Linked DNA regions of Homo sapiens: region 2 is linked to region 1. Evidence: promoter capture Hi-C in human tissues and cell types (Jung and others, 2019). All regions are on one chromosome and are shown on one strand. Each heading gives the region's core, a stretch centred on a gene start or on the middle of the fragment in contact. The rest is flanking DNA. Distances are from core to core; before and after follow the strand shown.

The links. The method cuts DNA at HindIII sites, captures the fragments that hold promoters and counts their contacts. A contact is called where the count stands out against the background at its distance.
Region 2: a fragment that was not itself captured here is called in contact with the fragment with the promoter of DPT in region 1 in 2 of the 25 tissues and cell types used here (dorsolateral prefrontal cortex and hippocampus).

The regions. Positions count from the first base shown.
Region 1 is chr1:168,724,272-168,730,977 of GRCh38, forward strand. DPT (dermatopontin) reads right to left here and starts at 4,935. Exons shown (of 4, transcript NM_001937.5): 1 at 4,599-4,935. The coding sequence starts at 4,903. The HindIII fragment of the contact is 7,078 bases long and covers 2,272-6,706 here.
Region 2 is chr1:168,977,154-168,983,995 of GRCh38, forward strand. The region is part of intron 3 of LINC00970 (long intergenic non-protein coding RNA 970); the gene reads right to left. Among named protein-coding and RNA genes, the nearest start is that of LINC00970, 110 kb to the right of the region's middle. The HindIII fragment of the contact is 5,300 bases long and covers 2,401-6,842 here.

The DNA.
Region 1 (6,706 bases), core at 3,685-6,184:
AACAATACAGTTGGAACCCCTACTATAGACACTGGAATATTGGGAATCAAAGACATAAGCAAAATGGTTCCCCTGTGGGAAAACCTGCAGGCCTCCTTGCGGAGGGCCGTGGGGACACTGGCTGGGGTTTGGACTGCTGATTTGGTCTTTCACTGCATATGTATTGAGGGCCTGTTATGTACCAGCACTTGTCTAGGCACTGGGGATACAGTGGTGAATGAGACAAAGCCCCTGTGTTCATGAAGCTTATATTTTAGTGAGGGAGACAAAACAAGAAACAAATGCCAATCAGGTAGTGACAAGGGCATTGTAGGAAACAAAGCAGGCTGAGGGAGTGGAGACAGCGAGATGTGTGGGGAGAGGAGGTGGTCTTGGAAAGCATCCCCGAGGAAGTGGGCCCTGTGAGTACTCAATACTCAGAACCATGACTCAGGACGACTGCCCTGAACTACACTGAGGCTTGGTCTTGCTTAGATTAGGGAAATAGTCCGACCATGGAAAACGGAGTTCCCACCCAACCTCTCCACCTTCAAATGCACCTCGATGCTGCCATAGCCCTGTTGCATAGATTCTTTCTCCTCTTCTCCAGTCTGTGGCTTGTCATTGAATTCATAAACTCAGCTCTAACACAAACTGCCACTCCAAAACTTCTCCTTGAGATTCTTTGAAGCCCGGGGTAAAAAGTAGATACCAATAAATGGACCACTTTTCCTCTGAACTCAGACTCCGTGGAAAGCTGGCTTGCCCAACATCAGCCACATCAATTTCAGATTCACTAAACTTTTACTACCTGCCCATGATGTGCTAGGCATTTGTTTTAGACTTCAATTTGCTTTAGAGTTTTCTTATACTTTATCCTACAAGTATCACAGTAACACAAGTAGCAGCTTGTGAGGTGGGAGTCACACCTTCCTTTTTCTTCCTTTGCTTTTCTTTCCTTTCCATTCCTTTCCTTTCCTTTCCTTTCCTTTCCTTTCCTTTCTCTTTCCCTTCCTTTCTTCCTTCCTTCTTTCCTTCCTTCCTTCAATCCTTCCTTCCTCCCTCCCTCCCTTCCTTCTCTCTCTCTCTTTCTTTCTTTCTTCTCTTTCTTTTTTGCCAGAATGAGATACCGAATGTCACAGATACAAGCAGGAGCTGTGAATCCAGGTTTCCTGCATCCAAGCCCAGGGCTCCTTCCGCTACACAGTAGCTCAATCTCACTAGAAAATTTCACCTTCATCTTATTCCACACAGGACCCAGTGCCCTACAGCCTGTGCTGACCCAAGTTAGAGCAGATTCCCTGAGAACAACCTAGGCATGCCCTGGGATGGTGAAATACCACTCATGGGGACCCAGGTAAGGCCTCCTGGTAGTTGTTAGTGCCAGAGACCATCATCCAAACTTCAGAAGCCGGCACTTGAAGAGGTGATTTTCAACAGAGAAACTGTGATCAATGGCAGCACCACAGACCACTCAGCTATGATGGCAACACCTTTTAAAGATGGCACTTTGATTAGAAAGATTTTCTTTTTAGCAGATCCTATGTGCTATTGTCAAGCCTATATTCGAGACTCCTCCCCTCTTTTAAAATAAACCTGAAAGCTAATTTGGTTATACAAGGCAGCCCAACTGCACAAAACCATCAACAACTGTTCCCTGAGAACAGACTAAGCCTGTAGCCAACGTCAGATGTAATAGCTCCCCAGCCCATAAGCAATTTCTTTCCTTACAGATTTTTCACTGAGACTGGAGGCTGAACTCAAAGGCATAATCATTTTTAAAAGTGCTTCCAGGGTAATTCGTGTCAGTCCTGGGGCAGCTGGATCTTATTGTAAAGAAGTTGTTTTGCATGTTTGTGAGTTTTCAACCCTGTGATTAGTAGACGGGGAGAAGGAGGCAACAGAGGGTGGAAGGAGGAAAGGAAACCAAAATTACTAGACACTGCACACCCAAAAATGCCGAGTAAGAGGAGGTGGAAGAGGTATCTCGCCTATCAGCTTTTCCCTTGACTCCCATGGGCCAAATAAAATCATGTTATTTCACCTTCTTCCTCTTTTGCTTTTCTTCAAATAGTTTGGGAGTTCATGACAAACCAGTCACAGTTGGCAAGTTTAAAACTAAACATCATTTGGCTTCTCTCTCTAGCAGGGATGAACACAAAGATCAACAGAATGCAAGAAAAAGCCAAGAGTGTTTTCAGGGGTGAGCCACAGCTCTGTGGAGCCTTCAGAGATCATGCAGCCTGACTGCTCACTTTCCAAATGAGGCGGGAGACTGGAGGGCTGAGCGTCTGGGCCAAGGTCACACCACAAGTCATTAGAACCAGGATCCAGACCCAGGCCTCCTGATTCAGAGCCTAGGGCTCTTCCTCTATGGCTTGGGGAACCATGGCTGAGTGCTGCTTGACTGTGGCACAAAAAACGGCTGTTAGAAAGGAGTCGCACCCATGCGATAGTGCTCCTGAGAGGTGAGGACTGGAGGGACAGTTGTAATTAGGTCATTGCCATGCTCCACATTAGGCAGTGGGCCTGGCTGTGAGGAGTCATGGAGACAACAATCAAGGTGAGCCTGGTCTCTGAATCAGCATCTGTCAGAAGGGGTTTTGAATAACTAAATCTGCTCACCAGAGGCCATGGGGGTGGATGAGAATGGCCCACAAAGGCTGTCCAAGCAGCCTCCACAGCCCCGGCACCCTCACCTGCTGCTGCCTGTGTGAGTCCTCTCCCCACCCCTTCTACAGTCCGGCTGAGCCCCTCCACAGTCCTGGTAACCAAGTAGGGATCATCCCTCTGGGGCTGGGCTTCTGCTGTGGTCTTGCAGGTCCCCACCCTCTCCAGGAGGAAGAACTGCCCTGAATCTGGTCCTGTGGCACTGGCTCTGCTGACAGAGTCAGCTGTCGGGTGGGAGCCCACTCTGGGTGGAGGCAGCAGCCTCTCAGGAGCCCGTCACTGTGGCAAAGTACAAACTCTTTGAAGCAAAGACTCTGTGGATCCAAACCCCAGCTTTCTAGCCGAGGAAATACTGGATCTCTAGACTGCAGTTTGTCTACCTATAAATGGGATATACCCTTGTTTTGAGCATTACACGAGATGATCCACATAAAGCACTTAGCATGGAGCCTGCTCAGGGTAAGCACTCAATAAATGGTAGCTGTTGTCATTACTTAAAGGCCCGCTCTCTTTCCTGGCTCCCCCACCCATCGGTGTTTCTTCCTCTTGGATTTCCCATCATCACCTCTCTACTGGTTGTGTCCCCCAGGGTTCTATGCTTTTTCTTTTTTCTATTTTCTTTTTTTTTTTTTTTTGAGGCAGAGTCTTGCTCTGCCACCCAGGAGGGAATACAGTGGTGCGAGCATGGCTCACTGCAGCCTCGACTCCCTGGGCTCAAGTGATCCTCCTACCTTAGCCTCCTGAGTAGCTGGGACCACAGGCTGCATGCAACTACACCGGGCTAATTTTTTTTTTTCTGTAGAGATAGGGTCTGGCTGTGTTCCCTAGGCTGGTCTCGAACTCTTGATCTCAAGTGATCCTCCCTCCCCAGCCTCCCAAAGTGTTTGGGATTACAGGCGTGAGCCACCACACCTGGCCAGATTTTGTGCTTGACCCCTCCAATCCCCACTACACTAAGTACTTGTTGCCACACATCTGGGTTGCTCTACAGATAGCACATGCAGCAGCCCTCCAGGTGGGCTTCCTCCTCCCTGGACTGCCTCCTCCGTTCTCTCCTCCAAGCCTCCTAGAGTGCTGGCTCCATCTAGGCTGTTGTAAATAATCAGCCTAGCAGTCAGTGCCTACTAGGATGAGCTCCTGACCAAGCACCTGGGCTGAGACCCAGCTGAGACAATCACACCCCACAAAAAAGTACAAGCTCGAAAAAATTCCATGCCACTGCTTAAGGCAGAATGCAGTCAGGGGAAGACAGCACCTCTCTCCAAAACCCTTTAGTAAACTATTTTCCAGCAATAAAACCCACTTTAAATTCAGGCAGAGAGAAGGACCTCAGTACTCATAATTGAGAGAGCACATTTAATCAAGGCAGTAGACAGCTATTTAATTCCACTTTCTTTTGCCTAAATGTCCTTGTCCCCTCTTTTCCATTCACTTGCTCTAAATCAATAGTTCTCAAACCCTCCGTGCTGAGAGATCAATTGTTTATTTTTCTTGTTCCCAAACTACTGTGGGCCAGTACTTTTGTAAAATGGTAAAAATAAATTTCTAAAAAAGAAAAATGCCATTCCGATGGCACAGAAAGTTTTAATTTCTATAAAGTTTATTACTTTCAGTTTCTGTACATATCTTTTGGTAGTCTGGTAAGCAAGCTTCTCGCCGACCTACACCAGCCCCTGGCCCAAACTGAGAGTAGGTAGAACAGCTTCTGGAAGGAACAGAGCCACAGAGGAGTCTGTCTCCCACAGACACTCCCCATCCCAGGTTTTTGTCCTGTCATGTAGTCCGCTCAGCAGCAGCCCTGCTCCACCCAGAGCATGCAGTGGTGAGGTTTGGGGTGGGATTTGCCCAGGCTTTGGTTACTGATATTCCTTGAGAGTCTAGCAGCCCCCAGGAGGAGGGATATGCAGAGATGTTCCCAGCCCCAGTGCAGTGCAGGGACTGGCCCTTACCATTCCATGCCAGCCCTGTTGATCTCCTCCCACCAGCACTCCGTGGGTTCCCCGAGGCTCTGTGGCGTGGGCATGCAGGCGTAGTTCCATTGTCTGTCAGAACCTTCCTTCTTGCTGAAGATGCTCCTCACGGCCACTATCACCTGCCCCTGGGGACACTGGTAGCTGAAGCCTTGCCGGTTCAAATTCACCCACCCATCATCGCTGTAGTCATGATACTGCTGGTATGGGTATCCATAATCGCCATACTGGCCCCAGGCCATGGTGACTAGGGGCAGAAGTACCCAGAGAAGACTGAGGTCCATGCTGCCTGGGATTTTGGCAAACAATGTCACTCTAAGATTGCTGGTCTGACCGTTTTATATAGCTGCCGCTGACATGTGGCTTCCAGATGTGGGTGAGAAGGATCCAACTGCAGTGTGTCATTGCTTAAGCAAAACTTTTCCATGCTGAGATGTCAGCCATAAGGACATTCAGCTTGTTTTAAGGTGGAATTCTAGGAATATACCAGCAGCATGTAAGTCTAAGAAGCTCCCTGGAGAAAGAACAACTTTGTATCTAGATTATAAAAGCCAACTGCTGCTCTACCCTGTAGAAATATTCACTTGAAAAACACTGATTAGTAGCATATTTGTCCCTCACCTTTCAGCACCTCACCCCTTTCTGTCCTACCCTACCCGCTACTAGCAAACCCCTGTATTTGTTCTCCAAACTAGCCTTCCGGGCCACACAAATACCCAGACAGTGATTTCAAAATACCGAAATCATAGACTGAAGTAACAGAGCCATCTAGGATTTCTGTAAGGCTGAATGCCTGTTTTTTTTTTTAAGTTGTCAATCCAACACTTTTTAACCCTTGAGTATAAGCGCGGGTATACCAGTTTGCAGGGCTACTCTGAGAACTCATAAGTTGCATAAGGAAGTACTATGGGCCCATGGGGAGATAAGTTGGATATGATTTCTACACTTAAGCATTCTACCATGCTGCTGAAATTGGACCCAGTCAAGTCTAGAAAGTGTGCTCTGCTCTCAAAATGTAATGGGTTTAATCTAAATAAACCCCCTATTTATCCTTCAGTATTTTTGCCCTCACATTGAATTTTCTTTTCATTGAGTTATAATTTACATATAATTAATTCACCTTTTAAAATACATAATGTACAGTAACATAGCCAGCACCCTAATCAAGACTTAGAACAGTTCCATCAATCCAAAACATCCCCTTATATCCCTTTGCAGTCAAATCTTCCCAAACACCCAGCCATTGGTAACCACTGATTTACTTTCTGTCTCTATGGTTTTGCCTTTTCCAGAATGTCAAGTAAATGGAATCATACCACACGTAGCCTTTCATGTCCATCTTTCACTTAGCATAATGCTTTTAAGGTTCATCCATTTTAAAATTCAACATCTCATTGTATGTGTTAGTATTTTGTTTCTTGTTATTGTTGAGTAATATTCCATAGCATGGATGTACCACAGATTGTTTATACATTTACTAGTTGAAAGACATTTGGGTTGTTTCCAGTTTTTGAAAATTCATTACTTTTTATGTAATGAATTTTATATTCATTATATTTTATATAATGAATTACATAAATGTAATTATAAAGTTGATATAAACATCTATGTATAGGTTTTTGTGTGAACAAATTTTTATTTCATTTGGGTCAATACCTAGGAGTGAGATTGCTGGTTCACAAGGTAATGTATGTTTAACTTTAAAAGAAACTACTGAGGCCGGGTGTGGTGGCTCATGCTTGTAATCCCAGCACTTTAGGAGGCCGAGGCGGGCGGATCACGAGGTCAGGAGATCGAGACCATCCTGGCTAACATGGTGAAACCCCGCCTCTACTAAAAATACAAAAAATTAGCCAGGCTTAGTGGCGGGCGCCTGTAGTCCCAGCTACTCGGGAGGCTGAGACAGGAGAATGGCGTGAACCCGAGAAGCGGAGCTTGCAGTGAGCCGAGATTGTGCCACTGCACTCCAGCCTGGGCTACAGAGCGAGACTCCGTCTCAAAAAAACAAAAAAAAGAAAGCAAGAAACTACCTAGCTGATTTCCAAAGTGGTGATACCATTGCCCACCACTACCAGAAAATTGCCATT
Region 2 (6,842 bases), core at 3,801-6,300, 250 kb after region 1:
ATGTACCACCATACCCGGCTAATTTTTGTGTTTTTTTGTAGAGATGAGGTTTTGCCATGAAGCCCAGCCTGGTCTCAAACTCCTAGACTCAAGCAATCTGCCTGTCTTGGCCTCCCAAAATGCTGGGATTACAGGCATGAGCCACCACGCCTGGCCCAACACTGCCAAATTTTATCCACATTATCTGGGTTAAGTTTCTCAACCTCTCCAAGCTCCTGGCTCTTCATTGTAATTGTGAGGATTAAATGAAGTCATGTGTATAAAAAGGCTTACCTCCTCCCCTTTGTCTCTGTAGTAGGCCAAATGATGCTCCCCTTCCCAAAGATGTCCACACCAATCCCTGGGTCTTATAAATATGTTAAATTGTGTGGCAAAAGGGACTTTGCAGGTATAATGAAGGTTACAGATCTTACGACAGGGAGATGATCCTGGATTATCTGGTGGGCCCAGTCTAATTACATAAGTCCTTGAAAGCAGAGAAATTTTTCCAGCTGGAGTCAGAGAGAAGTGGCAAAAGAAGCAGCGGGAGAAATGAGGCAGAGGAGAGGGCAGGGAGATGTGGAGCGTGGGGATGCAACCAGCATTGCTGACTTTGAGGATGGATAAAAGGAGCCACAATCCAGAGAAGGCAGGTGGCCTCGATGCTGAGAATGACTCAGCCAATAGACAGCAAGGAAACAGAGACCTCAGTCCTACAACTGCAAAAACCTGGATTCTGCCAGCAACCGGAGTGAGCCTGGAAGTGGATTCTCCTACATAGCCTTCAGTAAGGAAAGCAGCTCTGCTGACATCTCAATTTTGGTATGGTGAAACCCTGGGCAGGACTCAGCCAAATCACCGAGACTTTTGATTTACAGAACTGTGAGACAATTAATGTGTGTTGTTTTAAACTGTGTTTTTGGTCATTTGTTATGCCAGCAATAGAAAAAAAATACCCCTACATTTCCCTATTCTCATGACAACCTACTCTCCCAAGGATGGATCGGTTAGTTCCCCCATAAAGTGAATTTCAGCTGAGATGTTGCTGTGCCCAGGTTTTTTGTTGTGATTTTTTTTTAACCTCAAATTATATTTGCTCTTCTACTTATAAGTGAAAGAAACTTTAGGCAGCAACAATCAGAAAGGAGAAGGTGTTTTGAAAAGATGATGTCTTTTTCCTGGCGTTTCTAAAGTTATACCATAGCAGAAGCTGCAAGTCCAGTTGATCTTTTCACAAGTAAGCCTCTGTGTGTTGGTCAGCACCCTGTCCTTCCTACCAAAACAACACCCTTCTTTGTTTAAACCTCCGACTCTCAATTAACTTTTCTCATCAGCCCTACGTAGCCCCCACACCTGGGCTAATTAAGGGATTTCTCTGGGGACATGGACTCAGAATTCTGCTTGGTTTCCATATATAAAGGATAGCTCTCAGGAAGCCAGGTGGATAACTGGAGGAAGACACACAGAACCTCCAGTAAATATTCTGCTGTGATGGAATCCGGAGTTGCCTTGCAATTCCTTCAAACATCGTCATTGCTGAGAGCTGAGAGCTGAGAGCTGATGCGGCATAGGATTTTATCAAGTTGCTCCTTTGAAGACAGTGAGCCCCTGTTTTTCAACCTGCCTGTATGGTCAATAGGCTATACTGTTCCATCCATTTCCACAGGAAACCGGGTGATATGATTTGGCTCTGTGTCCCCACCCAAATCTCATCTTGAATTGTAATCCCTATAATCCTCATATGTTGAGGGTAGAACCCAATGGGAGGTTATTCGACCATGGGAGTGGTTTCCCCCATGCTGTTCTCATAATAGTGGGTTAGTTCTCACAAGATCTAATGGTTTTATAAGGGGCTCTTCCTGCTTCACTCCTCACTCTTCTCTCACCTGCCGTCTTGTGAAGAAGGTGCCTGCTTCCCCTTCCGTAAATTTCCTGAGGCCGCCTCAGCCATGTGGAACTGTGAGTCCATTAAACCTCTTTTCTTTACAAATTACCCAGTCTCAGGTAGTATCTTTACAGCTGTGTGAAAATGAATACACCAGGTGACTTGGCTTGGACCCATGGGGCATCATATCTGGGGAAGCAGATATCTGATGCACCTGGTCTGGATGGTCCCACACATTACAATAGCCAAGATATGAATGAGTAGACACCAAGTGGAATAAGCTCCTGAGTCTGAGCGGAGGCCCTAGGGCTCATCAGAAAATATGATCACAGGGTCATGGGGTGGCATCATGTCACTGACCAAATCTGTACCAGCATTTTGAAGCAACACAGGAAAGAGAAGCTTGAATCTTTCCAGCTTCTGTAGCTGTTGTCAAAGGGACTTGATGCAAAGCACAGGACAGCATTTTTACTATGTGCATTTCAGAAGATTTTCCAAATAACAGAACTGAAACTTCTCTGTCTCACGCTCAGGAGATTGGCCTGGCTTTTCCTTTTGGCTGAATTTCCACTGGCCTCTTTGATCTCCGGTTGTTCAATATGCCCTCGTGCTCTGCATTTCCAGGCTCACCATAGCTTTCTCTCATCTTTCTTCTTCCTGTCACAGCCAAGCTTTAGATTGTCTGGATTATAAATCCCAACTCATTAGATGGCCTATCAAAGATAGGAATTTGCCTTTCATTACAGTGTCCTGTATTATTTTTTATTGTTTACTCTGTAAAAATGTATATCCAGATATGTGAATGTTGTGGACATAGCTATTTGTCTAAGGTTTTGAATCAGGACCATGGAAGCAGAAGGATCCTCAGGATAGAGAGAGAACAGGAAACAAAGTTTGGAATAAAAAATTATGGATTTAAATCCCTGACCACTCCACAGTAGCCTTGAATAACTATGAAATTTCTCTTTGCTCATCTTTTTGACTATAAAATAGGAGTAATTAGACCGATTTATTGTGAAGACTCATTGGAAATCCATGTTCTTACAACAGCCTCCAAGCCTTCTGGCTCTCTCACCCCACCTCCTCTCTATCTTATCTTCTACCTCTCTCTCCTTGTGCTCCTCCTGCTCCAGTCACACTGTCCTGTTAGATATTCCTCAAATATACCCAGAACTGTCTCCCAAGGACATATGCACTCTCTCCCCTCTCCTTGGAAAGCTCTGTCCTCAGATAACCACATGGTTTTCTCTCCCATGTCCTTGGGTTAGCTGCTCAAGTCAGAGACCTACCCTCATCACCTATATTATTTAGAGCAATATCACACTGCCACTTCTACACCTCCCAACCCTGGTACTTCATAGCCCTCTTGAGTACTTTATGTTTGTCCACTGCTCTTATCACCACCTGACATATTACTTATTTATTTTGCATATTGCTCTCCATTAAGAGTTGAGTTTGACTGTTTGTTCACTGTTGTATCTGTTGCAATTCTATGAAGCATGTTTAAAACATTTTGGGTGCTCAAAAAATAAATCCAGAAAGAGTGACTGAGAGAACATATATAAAGTGCTAATGCCCATTACAGGAAGGGCATTTAAGAAACTGCTAATGACAATATATCTGAGGGGTAGTTGTCTGAAATAAACTCTTTTTTAGAGGATTTTCTTGGTGATTTAAAATTTAAACTTTATTTGATGACTTAAAATATATACTTCACTTTGAAGCTTTGAGAGGAAGAAATAATTTGCATCTAGGGGACTAGAATTAATTCTCCTTAGAAATAGCTAACTTCTGCTCTGGTGGGTGACTCAAGAATGGTTCTGTGATCCAAAATGCTGATTTCTCTCTGAAGAGGTGACAAAACAGGAAGTTAGAGAGGAGGGAGATATTTAGCTCCCTGAAGAAGTGGTGGCAATGGCATGGACTTTGGCATCAAGAGATCTGAATTCAGATCCTGATTCTACCACTTAATAGCTAAGGGACTTTGAATAAAATTTACCCTTGCTGAGTCCAGCAGTCTCTTCCTTTCAAATGATGGTAAGAAGAGCTATTGTCTCACAATGTTTCTGCTTCATATGCAGTGTCTCATGTATGAGAAATAAGGCCATGCATATAAAAATGTTTTACAAACTATTAATCACTATGCAAGGATTGGCTATTGTTATTGTTTACAGGGACTTGCAGGCTCTACAGGTTGTCTTGACCTCAAAAAAAATGCCACTTAGTCATTTGTACAAGATTTTGACTTCGAATTGTTAAGTTCTGTTTCGTGAATTTCTTCCCAGCCTGTGACTTTCTTTGCTTTGAGCTTTGATAGCTGTCTAGCACATTCACTTTTATGTTCCGATGATACTTTTCTTCAAGAAACTCGAGATGCTTTGTAGACGATTATCTCATTCATTCTTGCAATTTGAAAAGAAAGAATAAAATTATTTTGAGTCTAGCAAAATGGAGAAAAGCAGGATCACAAAACCCAAGCTGGCTGGGCACAGTGGTTCATGCCTGTAATCTCAGCACTTTGGCAAGCCAAAGCAGGAGAACTGCTTGTGCTCAAGAGTTCAAGACCAGCCTGGGCAACATAGTGAGACTCCACCTCTACAAAAAAATTTTAAGATAGCCAAGTATGGTGGCATGTGTCTATAGTCCTAGCTACTTGGGAGGCTGAAGCAGGAGGATCACTTGAACCTAGAAGCTCAAGATTACAGTGAGCTATGATCATGCCACTGACTCCAGCCTGGGTAACAGAGTAAGATCATCTCAAAGAAAAAAAAAAAGAATCACAGGCTAATTTCTCATCTATGCATTGACTCCCATTTCCATGGAAGGAGGGCTTTGCACCCTCTATCTGGCCTGTGCCCATCTCTACCAGGTATATCAGGGTTTTATCCAAGACATCAGGGAAGGAGAGAAGGGCTTTTACAGAATCTTGTGATAGAACAGGGAACTTTAAACCATAGTAGAGAGGAAATGTGGTGGTTCAACTCTTGTTGATTATGATTGTTAAACAAAAATTATAAAAAGCCACTGTTTTGGGCTAAGGTGATTTTTAAACAAAAATTATAGGAAGCCACTGTTGGCCGGGTGAGATGGCTCACACCTGTAATCCCAGCACTTTGGGAGGCCAAGGTGGGCGGATTATGAGGTCAGGAGATCGAGACTATTCTGGCCAACATGATGAAATCCCGTCTGTACCAAAAATACAAAAATTAGCTGGGTGTAGCGGCGCATGCCTGTAATCTCAGCTACTCGGGAGGCTGAGGCAGGAGAATTGCTTGAACCTGGGAGGTGGAGGTTGCAGTGAGCCGAGAGTGCGCCACTGTACTCCAGCCTGGCGACAGAGCTAGACTCCGTCTCCGTTTTGGGCTAAGCTTCTGTACTAGGCCCTAACAGACCATACTAAAAATCAAAATGGAGTCACCCATGCTAAAGTTCCATGTCACCAAACTGAAACTAAGTTGTTCTCTGAGCTTCTGAGAAATCAGGAGGGAAAGATAACAGCCCGTTTTCCAAACAGTCACAATAATGAATTACCTGTTTTAATCCTTTCAACAAAAAGTAACCAGCATAACCTGGCATTAACCAATCAGTTATCTTTCTATTGTTCTGTCTCCCTGTTCCTGCCTTACTAAGAAATGACCAATCTGCTTTTAAATCTTTGTTTCTGCTTTCTTCAACCCTTTCTGTCTATAAAACCAACCCCCTCTGTTCAACTCACTGGGACACTTACTCTATTTTATGGAATGAAGTGTTACCCAATTCAATTGAGATCTTGAAACAAAATTTGTTTGATTTCTCTTTTGATATGCCTTTTCAATGGGTACTAGGGGACAGGAAGGCACTATGGAAACATGAATGCTTTGCACTTTCTAAGTCGCTGTCTGAGACCCAGAAACAGATTGGTAGGGAAGTGGTTCAGCAAAAATTGGCCTAAGCGTGAGTTTCTCTAAAAATGGAACTTCAGGAAAGCCCAAAATTCAGAAAGGGCAGGACTCATGAGGAAGCCATTGCTTCCCGTAAATGCTGGATTGTGTTTTTCCATAAACATTTACTTGTGTTCTTTTCTGATTTTTTTTTTTTTTTTACCTTGGCTCTCATCCACCAAATGGATAGAAGTACAGGCTTCATCAAGGGCCCAGCGGCCAGAGGAACAATAGTGATTCTATCCGTGTCAATGTCCATGCCCTTGGATGTCACTTAATCTTTCTCTGGCTATTCTTCCCGGTTTTTGAAATGGACATGACATTGCTTGGCCTTCTGTAAATCATGGTATTAATATGAAAACAGAGCAAAATTGTATGTAATCCATATGTAAGCTGGATTCACACTATTCTTAAACTGTCAAATGAAATTGCCTCAAAATCCCTATTACATGTGTTGAGAAACTTGGTCTTCCTTGGGATTCTTATATTTCTTACAGAAATTTTTCCTAGTCAACCTGGCTCTGAATTTCTACCTCTGCCAAACTACTTCATTTTATAGATCACCTGGCCACCCATACATGTCACTTTTCTGTACTAGTTTATAACTTTGTGAGACAGCATCCCAATTACTTCCAGAAAACTGCCAATCCAAGTATATGCTTGTATAAGGCTTTCATTGAAGGTTTAAAAAATGGAAGGCTTTAATATGGCAGCTTTGCAGAAAATAAAAAAGAAGAAGTACACATGAGGGTACTTATGTCCTCAGGCTAATCCTCCTCCAGAAATTTCTTACTGGTCTCCACAGCCAGGTTTCTCAGCCTCTATCTTATCTTCTCCACAGATTCCTGTTAACTTCTTATGCATAGATGTTTAGCTATCAGTGTTGACCTCTGGACCTCATCTTCCTCCCCAATATGGTCTATAAGGTCATTTTGTAAGACAAAAGGCTATGCCCTCCAGAGAAAAGTTATACTGCTAAGGCAGGAGGCAAGGGCAGCTATCACCAGTTATCTTTTCTAATAACACTTTTTATATTCTTTGCACCATATTTGAAAACT